3 separate regions of the Homo sapiens genome follow, and regions 1 and 2 are each linked to region 3. The links are contacts of gene promoters, found by promoter capture Hi-C in blood cells and fetal thymus (Javierre and others, 2016). All regions are on one chromosome and are shown on one strand. Each heading gives the region's core, a stretch centred on a gene start or on the middle of the fragment in contact. The rest is flanking DNA. Distances are from core to core; before and after follow the strand shown.

Region 1 (4,167 bases), core at 585-3,084, 270 kb before region 3:
CTGCTTAATACTAACCAAGAAACACCTTTGGTTCAAACTAGAAACCAAGCTTTGTGAAACTTTTATTTGGGCCGGACAATTTTGTGTTCCATTTAGTGTAAATGAGAAACAATCCAGTATACGGAAACAGTAAGTATGGAACAAAGTTACCTCTTTTAAAAAGAAAAAAAATAATTTTATCCCTCTTTGACTGTTTTTAATCATGTTTAATCCATCTAATTGATCATTGCTTTATCTACATGTTTTCGCTGTATAATTACACCATTTTCTCCCTCCAAGGAACAAGACCATATTATATCCCTTTATACAATCTTGATAATTTACACAAAGGAATAAAAATCTGCTTATAATAAAATGGAGATTTCTATTTCTAATTTTTGGAGTGGTAAATGAAGGTATCTGATCTCACACCAAGTGCCTTTTAAAATCATTCGCAAAATAAAAGCACTTTGAAAAGGGTTATTTCCAGTGCAAATATAGTCACCTGCTCTTGTGATCAATAAACCTCTAAAACATTATACTAATATTTACAGTATTAATGAACATGTGCACAAAGCCTTTTTACACGTGGTAAAACTCATTTAATCATCACACACATGTGAGGTAGCTTTTGGGATTATTCCCATTTCACAGATGAGGAAAATGAGAATCAGGGAGGGTAAGTAACTTGCCAGAGCTCCTTCAGCCAGGAAGTACAGGACTCTAGATATTAAGCTTATTAAAGAGCTCTTGCTGAACATTGATTCAGACACTGACACTTGGCTCTGGATGGATGGGCTCAGTGTTGCTCTGCATCTGGATTACTTCCAAAGGTCCATCTGTGAGCCTGCCTGACCCCCGGGATGGGGCGGCGCAGCCTTTGCAGCCTTGGCACTCCATCTGGAGAGACTGAAAGGGAACAGCAAGGTGGTGACTCAGTGGCCTTGACTGTCCCTCAGTCTCCTGGGAGACAGAGAGCAAAGTGATAAAGTGACAGAGTGGGAACTGTAGTTCTCGTTTCTCTATTTGTTTTCCACTTGATTCTTAAAAACAGACCTATTAATCATTTAGTTCATGACTGGTAATTCCACTGACTCCCAACACATTTGAGTCAATGAAGCAAAAACTAGAAAGTTGTGTGTTCAAACTTCTCAGATGGGAGAAGAATTAAAATCCTTTGAAAACATTTCACCGGCCAGCAGAAAGACTCACATGTTTTTCTGCTTCAGAGTTGTAGATGGATGTGACTTAAGCCCTAACTGGGAAAAACTTTGTGTGATTTATAACAGCAGATAGATATTCTGAGTAAGCTTCTCATACTCTTTTATTCCACCTACCAAAAACAAAAGCTGTTTTCAGCAGAGCCCAATGAGGTGAAAAGGGCTTTCCAAGGAAACTGTTGCGTGTGCTTCTTGATTCTGTCCTGATTTGGGAAGTTCATCTAAGCTGAAATTACTTTGTGGAGCTGACAGGAAGTTTGTCCAATGACTTTTGCCTTTCACAGCCCTGCTCTCCTTATCTCTACAGACACGCTTCCCACTTTCTTTCTTTTCTGGCTCCCTTCCTCCTTCCCTTCACACACACCTTCACACCTCCCATCTACTCTGATTGTATTAATTGATACCATAAAGAACACTGTTATAAAGGGAGGCACAAGTGTTGTAATATTTGAGGGGCTTTTAGTGCAGGAATTAAAGGCTAATACTTGGCCTGGCCAGACCTATCATTGCATGCTATGTCCAGACTCTCCAAAACTGTGAGAGCCTACTTTGAGTCCCTCTTTCATATCTTTGTAGCATTTGAGTTCACTGAATATGTTGGGAGCTTCAGATAGAAAAGGACCCTATCCCTCCCCTCAGGGAGCTGATGCTTGCCCAGCAGGGACAGTAGGTTAATGAGGAGCAAAGCTCTCCCTAGTTAATCTGGCTCCAAGTGTAGTGTGATGGGTCCCCTACCAGGTTACTTAAGGGTATATGTCCACTGCCTGAACCTTAAAGGCCAGGTGGTGAGCTAAGGCTGTCGTGCCCAGCCGAGGAGCAGGTGTCTCTGAGAACACAAACATACCAAGGAAAACAGTCCCATCACACAGGCACAGTAGGCAAAGAGCCAAATAATTAGCTTAAATGAGAGATGGGAAGTGGGATGAATCTCTAGAGCTGTCCTGCTGCTGCCCAGGAGTGCTCTGTAAGTAAGTCTTAATAAACCCATCTACTCACCAAGCTGGACTTGTCCAAAACATTTTGGTCTCCTGATACCTTCCCAGTTTGGGGGGTGGGTGGTGGGGAGGAAACATTACAGTCCTAAGTTTTTCTCATAACACCAAGTGGATTCATTTAGAAGGCAATTTCCTAGCAAACATCAAATTCACAGCTCTCCCTGGATCAAGAGTGGTAAGCTTTCTAGTAAAATGATCTGTTTGGAATCAGATCTACTTAAGTCTAAATCCCTTTTCTGCCTTGGACAAGTCACTGAATCTCATTGAGCCTCAGTTCTCTCTACTATAAAATGCAAATGACATCTAACTCAAGACTCTACATGAGGATTAAATGAGGAAATGTTATACAAAGCACATGGCATAATTCCTGGCAAACAGGAGATACTCAATAAAGGGTAGTTTCCCTTCTTCTTCCTTCTCTCTTCCCAGACCTCACAAGAAGAGGAGTGTGGCCTCTTAGTGAGATGATATAAAAGAGACTCTAACAATATTAAACACTTCAGTAGCACCTACTACATCCCAGGCACTATTCTAAGCACATCTGTATTTCAGCTCATATAAGTCTTCCCTAAAACCCAATAAGATAAGAGCTATTATCATCTCTACTTCATAAATGAGATAGCAGGTAACTTTCTGAAGTCACACAGTTAGAATGTATGTGATGCGGCTATGATTTGATCCCAGTTTATCTAGCTCTTAACTATCACATTATTAGGAAACAGATAGTGAGAGAGGTGCTAACTGTATCTGGAACTCAAGTACACAAAACAAGCAGTCCTCAGACAATGAGCTCTGTTTGATTTGCACAGTGTTTTAAAAATCAAGTCTATATTTCTGACTGCTCTCAAAAAAGTTGGAAGATCTGGCACTAGGCAGCTCACATACTGATGTGGCAACAAGCCTTTGACTGGTGGCTGCTGTCTGGACTGAGGTCCCCAGTTCACCAGTCTCCAGTACTCACAGTCGTATTACAGGGCCGGCTTCACTTTTGACCTGCACATACATTTGAGCTTGTCGTCCAGAATTAGGTAATGATGCTAAACCGTAAAGACACAAGAATCGTGTTCAATAACGTGCACCCAATGGTTAAAATGTTTGAATTAAATGAAGGAAAAAAATGAACGTAGGAAAGAGGTCTGCGTGAAAAGCAATCAACAACCAGGTTCAAACACAACCACGCAGAAAATGCCTGGATAAGCCTTTGAGCCCTATGTGCAGAAATTGTAAACTCCTGCTCTTTTCCATATCTCCACACCTAAATAAAAACCTGAAAATGCAAGTTTCCTTACAGTCCATGGAGCAAAGACTCTTTTGCCTTCAATGTTAAATGTGTTCCTCTTTGGCATAGCTAAAAGAGGGAGTTTAAATTTTCATGTACTACTTAACCCAAACAATATTTTTTTCTCTCTCTTTTTTTTTTTTAGCTCTTTAGGCCTTAATGATTGACATGATCTTGGAAAACAGGTATGTAGCAAAACTCTCCTAGAAACCTGAAAGATGTGGCAAGAAGAAAACATGGAGCCTTTTCTGAACAAGCCTATGAGAGAAGAAGAATCACTTCAATTTATTAAGTGTGGATTCTGGGGCTAAAGAACTTACCTACAACCACACAGCCAGCAAATTACTGACCCAGCATATTCTGAACCCAGGTCTTTATTCTTTCCAAAACTTCACAGCACCTTCCTCAGAGCATCTCTACATGAAAATCTGTATAAAGAAGTGATCTGTGGTGTCGCCATTTGTATCAAAATGGTATCACAAACTTATTTAAAAGGCTTCATCTAAAAGTCTTCAGAGTTTTGGCCAGGGAAGAGCTCTAATATCACACATTAATAACCTTACCTTTGTAACATGTAAATTGTTTTTTGTTTTAACATCTCAGTTTCATTAAACTGAGACCAGAAAGAGCCATCATCTTTTTACCAATTTGTAATCATTTTATTGTGTTATGGACCTGCAGCAATGCTGACTAT
Region 2 (3,968 bases), core at 427-2,926, 310 kb before region 3:
TGGCCAAAAAGCCAAGCTATAGCCCACTTACTGAACTTTAACTTCTTCTAAACCAAGGTGACTACATGCCTCGTGATGGTTGAATCCCACTAAATTAAATTTTAAAATAAGAAGGTTGTTTGTAACATGGCTTAAAGCAGTTGTTGTCAAAGTTTGATTCCCAGACTAGCATCAGCAGCGTCACCTAGGAACCTGTTAGAAATGCAAATTCTTGCACCCCACTAGAGGCCTCCTGAATCAGAAACTCAGAATGGGCCCTGCAATCTGTGTTTCAACAAGCTTTCCAGGTAATTCCGATTCATGCTCAAGTTTGAGAACCACTGGCTTAGAGAGAGCAAAAGATTATAACTGGAACACTAAAATAATCAGACAAAATAATATGTATTCATAAAAATATTGTCTAGAATACATTTCTAAAGTAGTGGTCTTAATAAGTATAAGCATTAATAATAATGGAAAGAAACATTTTCATTTAACTCTTACTTTGCCAATAGAATTGCTCAGATGTACTTATTTCCTTAGAAATAAGGAGTTAAGAAATCTTATTTAAGAGGAGAAAACGTTTTCATGTTTGGGAGGATTAAAAGGGTACTGACATCATTCAAGTCATGAGCCATAATTCTTATTAGATTTTATTGCTACATTCTTCGCACAGCTTTGGAAAGTTATTCCTAAGAGCACAAAATATGCACTTAGACTGCACACAGAGAAGGAAAATGCTCTCACAATGAAATTATTTTAGTCTGGCCCAGTAATATTTGAAAGACTCAAGATTTGTTCTCTCTGAAACATATCCTGTCAAAATAAGAGATGTTTGTTTAAATTTATAGTTTTCAACATCCTTTATAATTTTCCCTCCTAAGTTTAATTTGTCTGTAAGCAATCCAATTTCTATATACTAAAAAAATTATTTTCCCTTCTCCTCTAATATAATAAAAATGTCATGACTAAAAGGTAAAACAAAAAATAAAAAGTATTAAAAATTATTATTGAAATTGGTCTTCAATGACAATGAATAAAAGCCATAATTTGATTTTTATATATTTATAATAATGTTATGTATCTGTTAGTATCTGAAACATTGGTATGCCTGTTAATCAATAACTTCTGGTAGCATGTTAAAAATTCATCTTCAGTTTCATTCTTAGTGAATTCATTTGGATTATTTCTGGACCACACCAATTTCCCATGATGTGATGGAAAAAATTGTAACATTCAAAAATTGAATTAGATCACACACAAAATGTCAACTCACTCAGATTATAATAATAAGGTTTGGCTTGTTCATTGAAAAGTGGAGCCCAACTATGTCTAGAGTCTGTAAACTCAGTGCTGGAGATCAACAAGATGTTTTAGACACTTCACCACTTCAGGTGACCTGAAAGAAATACATTTCCTTAGATGAGGATAAGAAGGCTCTCCAAATATCAGGTTTCTTTGCTTTCATTGGATTTAATTCAACTCAATATTGATGCAATTGCTAATCAGAAGCTCCAACTAACAGTCTAAAATGCCTTTGATAGTAACAAAAGAAAAAAATTATTAACCATATATGCAATTTGTTACACAAAATATTTCAAAACATGAGGTTTCATTAAAGGAAACAATAAAAACATTGCTAGGAATTTAGCATCCTCCCAGGCAGTAGGAGTGTTTTAAGTATTTGATAACAACGACCAATAGTCACTATTGCATGAAGCACTCTACACATATTATTTAACTTAGTTTTCTCACAAACCCAGTGAAGAAGGTATTATTGGCACTCCTATTTTATAGTCCTTTTTTTCTCCTAACAAAGAAATTGAAGTTCAAAAAGACATAAATTGGAAGGAAATAAATTACCTAAATGTGCATAATTCTACATCTCAGACAAAATAGCACAGAGGAACAAGCATGGAACTACAAGTCAGGAAACTTAGGTTTTATGTTGTTTGTTTTTGTTTTTTCAAATTTTTATTTTGAAAAATGTATAGACTTACAAGCAGTTAAAAAATAATAATACAGGGGTTCTATGTACCTTCACTCAATTTCCCCCAACGGAACATCTTACATAACTATAGTAAAATATCTAAACCAGGAAATTGACATTTATACAACCCATAGATCTTATTCAGATTTCACCAGTGTACAAGCACTCATGTGTGTACATGTGTATAGTTCTGTGCAACTTGCCACATGTAGATTTGTGTAACAACTGCCATAGTCAAGATACACAATTATTTCATCACCACAAATATCCCGGTGTTACCCCTCTCTAGTTACACCTATCTCTTTACCCTCTTGATGCCCCATCCCTAACTCCTGGCAACCACTAATCTGTTTACTATCTCTATAATTTTGTCATTTTTAGAATGTTTATAAATTTAATCATATAGTAGGTAACCTTTTGAGATTGAATTTTTTTACTCAGCTTAATTCTTTTGACATCCATCCAAGCTGTTGCATGTATCAATAGTTTGTTCCTTTTTACTGTTGAGTAGTATTTCATGATATGGATGCAGCATAGTTTGTTTAATGATTCACCCATTGAAGGACACTTAGTTTGTGTCTGTGTCTTGGTATTACAAACAAAACTACTACAAACAATATAGTCTAAGATTATTGTGTGAGCATAAATTTTCATTTTTCTGGGATAAATGTCAAGAGATGTGATTGTTGGGTCATATGATAAATGCATGTTTACTTTTTGATTGTTATTACTTTTTTAAAAAATTATTTTAGATTCAGCGGTACATGTCCAGGTTTGTTACATGGATATATTGTGTAATGCTGAGGTTTGGGGCTTCTGTTGACCCTATCACCCAAATAGTGAACATAGTACCCAATAGGTAGTTTTTCAACTCTTGCCTCCCCACTCCTTTTGGGGTCCCCAGTGTCTACTGAGGAAATGTAGGTTTTCAGTATCTGATTCCCCTACTTAAATTAAGCCTCTCTGATTTTCCTGATCTTTACAACAGGCAAATTATTCACTTTCCTGCTTACTTCTCATGGCTGGTAAAATATTTGTTAATAATAAAGAACTGGAAAGATGTAGGACGTAGTCATTATGCTTAGAGTGAATGGGCAAGCTTTGAGGATAGCCTAGACTCCTGCTGCTGTTTCTCACCACCACAGTCTTCTCCCATTGCTGTGGAAACTGCAAGAGAGAGGATGCTGGTGGGAGGACTATTTTGCCTCCTAATCGGCCCCTCCTAAGGACACTGGCCATGTATCTTTGATCATTTTCCTTCCTGGGCGCAGCCATGCCTCTTTGCCCTAGCCTTAGTGATACTAAAGACACAACCCTTAATTAAGGCAAGCAAACAGCTTCTCTTGAAGGACTGTGCTAGATGACTCCACATGGTCTTTCTTCCTCTGATGGGGTAACAGGGTTCCCTCTCTTTTCTTTCAAAGGATGTCAGGGTTTTCAATAAATGTGTAACAAAAATACACCAATGCCCAATGGCCTATGCAGAAGTAAAGCTTGGCTACAATGTGCCATCTCTCAAGGACCTGAAATTCCTTTCTGGATACAATCTTGACAGACATTTCAGAAGCTCCACCATTCACAGAAATCAAATCTTTGGATTTGGAAAGGAAAATAGTGGCCACTTATTCCAGCACTCTTATATATTGAGCACTGACTGTATACTGGGCATTTGACATACACAGTCCCATTTAGTCCCCATAACAATGTTATATGAAGTGAGACTATTACTGGTCTCAATTTGCAGATGAAAAAAAGCTGAAACTCCTAGAGGCTTAATAAGGGCCTTGAACCAGGTCTGCTTGACTCCAAAGCCCACAATTTTAACCACTAGCTGATTTTGAGGCCCAAAAATTAAGTGGCTCCAGGACATATAGCTGGTTAGTGGTAAACCTGAAACTACAGTCCAGTTTACTTTCTACCACATGACACTTATCCCTAAATAATTAACTTGAACAGTCTACATTCTAATAAAAGTTCCTGAAAGAGTTACTCAATTTTT
Region 3 (4,304 bases), core at 790-3,289:
TGAGCCACCGCGCCCGGCCGACACTTTTAATCCTTACAAAAACCCTATTAGATTCATATTACTATCTGTTTTTATGGGGAAACTGAGGCTCAGAGAGCTAGAGTCACACAACTGGTAATTAACAGAGACAAGATTGGAACCAGCTGGGACTAACTCCAAGTCTATGCTCTAAACTATTAGGCAATACTGCCCAAATGAAAATGATTACATAGTAATTAAGTATATTAACAAAAAGATGATTTTGTATTCTTACTCTATAAATCAAAAGTCATGTTCAATTGTGGCAAGTAGGTTTTCTGAGAGATTTATCTTCATGAGAGATTTCAATAGATTGGTCTGGAAAACTCTGTGGCAACTCAAGGTAAAGTAAAAGGGAGGAGACGCAAAAACTGCTTTAACACTAAAAATCTGTAAACAAAGTTAATGGTAATCCCTCTATTGGAATGGAAATCCCAAATCAGTAATAATAGCTCATGAAAGCAAGGTGTCAGAAAACTGCTTTGCCAGCAAATCATTTGTCTGTTTAGAGCTCATCATTCTTTTTTCTTTTTTAAATCATCACGGATCAACATTTTTAATTTTTTTTTTTTTTTTTTTTTTTTTTAGATGGAGTCTCGGTCTGGAGTGCAGTGGCGCGATCTCGGCTCACTGCAACCTCCGCCTCCTGGATTCAAGCGATTCTCATGCCTCAGCCTCTGGAGTAGCTGGGATTACAGGCACGCGCCACCACACCGAGCTAATTTTTGTATTTTTAGTAGAGACGCGGTTTCAGCATGTTGGCCAGGATGCCCTGGGTCTCTTGACCTCGTGATCCACCCGCCTCTGCCTCCCAGCGTGCTGGGATTACAGGCATGAGCCACTGCGCCCGGACTTTTTTTTTTTTTTTTTTTTTTTTTTTTTTTGAGACCGAGTTTCACTCTTGTTGCAATGACGCGATCTCGGCTCACTGCAACCTCCGCCTCCCGGGTTCAAGCGATTCCCCTGCCTCAGCCTCCCGAGTAGCTGGGATTACAGGCATAAGCCACCATGCCCGGCTAGTTTTGTATTTTTAGTAGAGACGGGGTTTCTCTGTGTTGGTCAGGCTGGTCTCGAACTCAGGTGATCCGCCCGCCTCGGCCTCCCAAAGTGCTGGGATTACAGGCGTGAGCCACAGCGTCCAGCCAACGTTTTTAATTCTTAAAACTGTGTTTGAATGAGTGTTGGGTTTTTGTTGTTTGGTTTTCTTTGGGGTAAGGCGGTTATCACCTTACACAAAAAATTTACATCATAATATGAAAATGCCCATTGGTTCATTCAAGGAAAAACATAAAGAATTTCTAACAGAATGGATTAATGGGGTGGAAGAAATTTATCCATTCTCTAAAAATTTTTCAAATCCCAAAAACTTTTTTTTTTCATTTTACAAAATATTTACTTCAAACAGTAGCTGGCATTTTGCATTTAAGAGTTCGACCAAAAGGGACAGAAATATAAATTGCTAATTATTAGCAATGGAAATGAAAATGAATCAGAAGTGACAATAAAGATTTCTAAAATTACAAGTCGATGAAAAATGAATTTACTGTAAATTGGTTAACACAAATCGCTGTAGTAACATATCTGCTATGTGAAATTTTTAAAATAAAAACCAGGGCGGAGAAGGGGAGAAGGAGATCTCTTTCCAAGGCCCACCACCCAAATTCTAATTCTTAGTTCACAGATCCAAATAATAATAATGTGTTGTTCTATGACTTCTAGTATTAAAAGTAAATATAAATTTACTCTGCATATTAAACATTTACATTATTCTAGGACTTCTCCTTTAAATTACGATAGTACACACACAAAAACCTTATTTATCTAATTGCCTTTCGTTGGCACATAAAGACAAAGATCGTTTGCAACATAATCGCGTTCTGATAGGTTTGACCCTCTCTAGTCTTCGTAGAAGGTGGCCAAGGTTTCCGTTACCCCGGCGTCCCTCGGGCACCGCGGAAACGAAACTCCATCAGGCTCCGCCCCACGGTCTGCGGAGTGAGCCAATCAGGGCACAGCCTGCGTTGACCGCGTGCCGGGTGTCATGGCGGCCTGCAGGTACTGCTGCTCGTGCCTCCGGCTCCGGCCCCTGAGCGATGGTCCTTTCCTTCTGCCACGGCGGGATCGGGCACTCACCCAGTTGCAAGTGCGAGCACTATGGAGTAGCGCAGGGTCTCGAGCTGTGGCCGTGGACTTAGGCAACAGGTAAGGAGTGACGTGCGTTCACTGTATTGTCATAAGGTGTCTTGTCCAGCCAGCTTGAGCGTATTCATCTCCCAGGGTAGAAACCCGGTATCCCAGCTCTATTTAATCTCTCCTTACCCTAAACCTAAATTCCAAATTTCCCTTTCCGGGTTTGGAATGTGTCTCCTCGGACCCTCCTTCCCGCGCTATGTCGTTCTCTCTGTTGGTGTGTGCCGGGCTTCTTTGCTCCATCCGACTCTGTCCGTCCACCTGACTTCCGATCTCTTTACTTTCCGGGACCACTGGGCTCTTAAGTGGGAAACATTCCACCTAGGAATAACGAGTTGACGTGGGTGAGACGAGGCCCCCCGGGATGCTGGCCCGGACCCTGGAAGCTGGGGCTCTGATGCCCCTCGAGCTGGGACACAGACCTCAGCAGAGGCTCCGGGTGGCTAGTGCACCACGGGTCCCCCACGTCCCACTCCTCGGGCTCCTTCAGCCTCCTCTTCACCAGGAGCCTACCTTGTAGAAGTTGAACACCAGGTCCAGTTCACAGACATTGTGGAAATATTCGTTTAAGACCTGGGAGAGGAAGGCAGAGATGGTAAGAGATGGACAGGGAGAGAGCCACACACGCACAGAGATGGGAACAAGGTCATCAGAAAGAGACAGCAAAAAAAAGAGACCAAGAGGGAGGCAGGGGAGAGAGAGAGACAGTGACAGGGAGAGAGGCAAGGAGACACACAGAGAGAAACAAAAGCAAAGATCGATGCAAAGAGATGGCAAAAGGTCAGGCGCTCACACCTGTAATCCCAGCACTTTGGGAGGCTAAGACGGAAGGATGACTTGAAGTTAGGAGTACAAGATATCATGTCATCCAATCTAATTGATTGCCTAAAGTGTGACCACTATGACCCTGGGTTAGGAGGAAAAGGAAAAGTCAGTTTTTTGAACGCCAGTTATATGATCCTCGCAATCTTTTTAAACCTGTCGTAAAGGTACTATTACCCTCATTTTATAGTTAAGACTACAGAGGCTCAAAAAAGGTTAGATAACTTTCTAAGAGTCTATAAAAAAGTTAGTATTATGGGACTAGGTGGTTTTTGAATTTCTGTTTTTTGCTTACAAAGCCCATACTTTTTTTTAGGGGACCGCTTTTTAAAAAAAAAGTTTGCTTTAATCGTTCTTAGAATAAATGGAATTGCTAATGCAAACTTCATATATCTAAATTTTTTACGTGTACTTTGAAAAAATTTGGACCCCAGTTCATACAAAAAGCAAAAAAATCATTTTGAATCCAGGTCTCGCACTCTAACTTTGATAAGTAGTTGACATTGAACAGGTTAATTCACCATTTTCTTGTGCAAAGTGTGGAGAGTGGATTCCATCAAGGGTCTGCAAACTTTTCTATAAAGGACCAGATAATATATATATTAGGCTTTTTGGGGTACACACTGTGTGTATGTGTTTACAAACCCTTTAGAAATATTTTAAAAAACGGCCGAGCACAGTGGCTAACACCTGTAATCCGAGCACTTTGGGAGGCTGAGGTGGGTGGATCTCCTGAGGTCAGGAGTTCGAGACCAGCCTGGCTACAATGGTGAAACCCCGTCTTTACTAAAAATACAAAATTAGCTGGGCGTGGTGGCAAGCACCTGTAATTCCATTTACCTGGGAGGCTGAGGCAGGAGAATCGGTTGAACCCAGGAGGCAGAGGTTGCAGTGGCAGAGATCGTGCCATTGCACTCCAGCCTGGGTGATAAGAGTGAAACTTTTGTCTCAAAAAAAAAAAAAAAAAAAAAAAATATATATATATATATATATATATATATATAAACATTTTTAATTGAAGAGTAATATAGAAATAGGCCACAAGCTGTAGTTTGGTCACCCCTAGACTAGGTTATCTCTAAGGCTTATTCCACTCCCAGCATTCATTAATTCTGATTTTTGAGGGAAGTGGACATCTCTTCCATTCTTCAAGGACTACACATGCTTCAAAGAAATGCCCAGAACATTTCATTCAACAGACACATACTGTGAGATAGGCATTAGATACTGAAAACAAGATGCAGCTGCTGCCCTCCATATTTTCCATAAATAAT

Evidence for each region. The method cuts DNA at HindIII sites, captures the fragments that hold promoters and counts their contacts. A CHiCAGO score of 5 or more calls a contact.
Region 1: a contact is called between a fragment that was not itself captured here and the fragment with the promoter of PNPT1 in region 3, in 1 of 17 cell types (megakaryocytes). The highest score is 5.9, in megakaryocytes.
Region 2: a fragment that was not itself captured here is called in contact with the fragment with the promoter of PNPT1 in region 3 in 1 of 17 cell types (endothelial precursors); the score reaches 5.0 in endothelial precursors.

The regions. Positions count from the first base shown.
Region 1 is chr2:55,963,334-55,967,500 of GRCh38, reverse strand. MIR217HG (MIR217 host gene) reads left to right here. Exons shown (of 3, transcript NR_126406.1): 3 at 3,619-4,095. The region is part of intron 3 of LOC105374690 (a long non-coding RNA gene); the gene reads right to left. Among named protein-coding and RNA genes, the nearest start is that of MIR217, 18 kb to the left of the region's middle. The HindIII fragment of the contact is 1,085 bases long and covers 1,292-2,376 here.
Region 2 is chr2:55,996,672-56,000,639 of GRCh38, reverse strand. The region is part of intron 2 of MIR217HG (MIR217 host gene); the gene reads left to right. The region is part of intron 3 of LOC105374690 (a long non-coding RNA gene); the gene reads right to left. Among named protein-coding and RNA genes, the nearest start is that of MIR216B, 2.1 kb to the left of the region's middle. The HindIII fragment of the contact is 2,789 bases long and covers 282-3,070 here.
Region 3 is chr2:55,691,579-55,695,882 of GRCh38, reverse strand. PNPT1 (polyribonucleotide nucleotidyltransferase 1) reads left to right here and starts at 2,039. Exons shown (of 28, transcript NM_033109.5): 1 at 2,039-2,220. The coding sequence starts at 2,060. RefSeq lists enhancers at 1,850-1,999, 2,030-2,089, 2,100-2,219 and a silencer at 2,790-2,849. The HindIII fragment of the contact is 6,564 bases long and covers 1-4,304 here.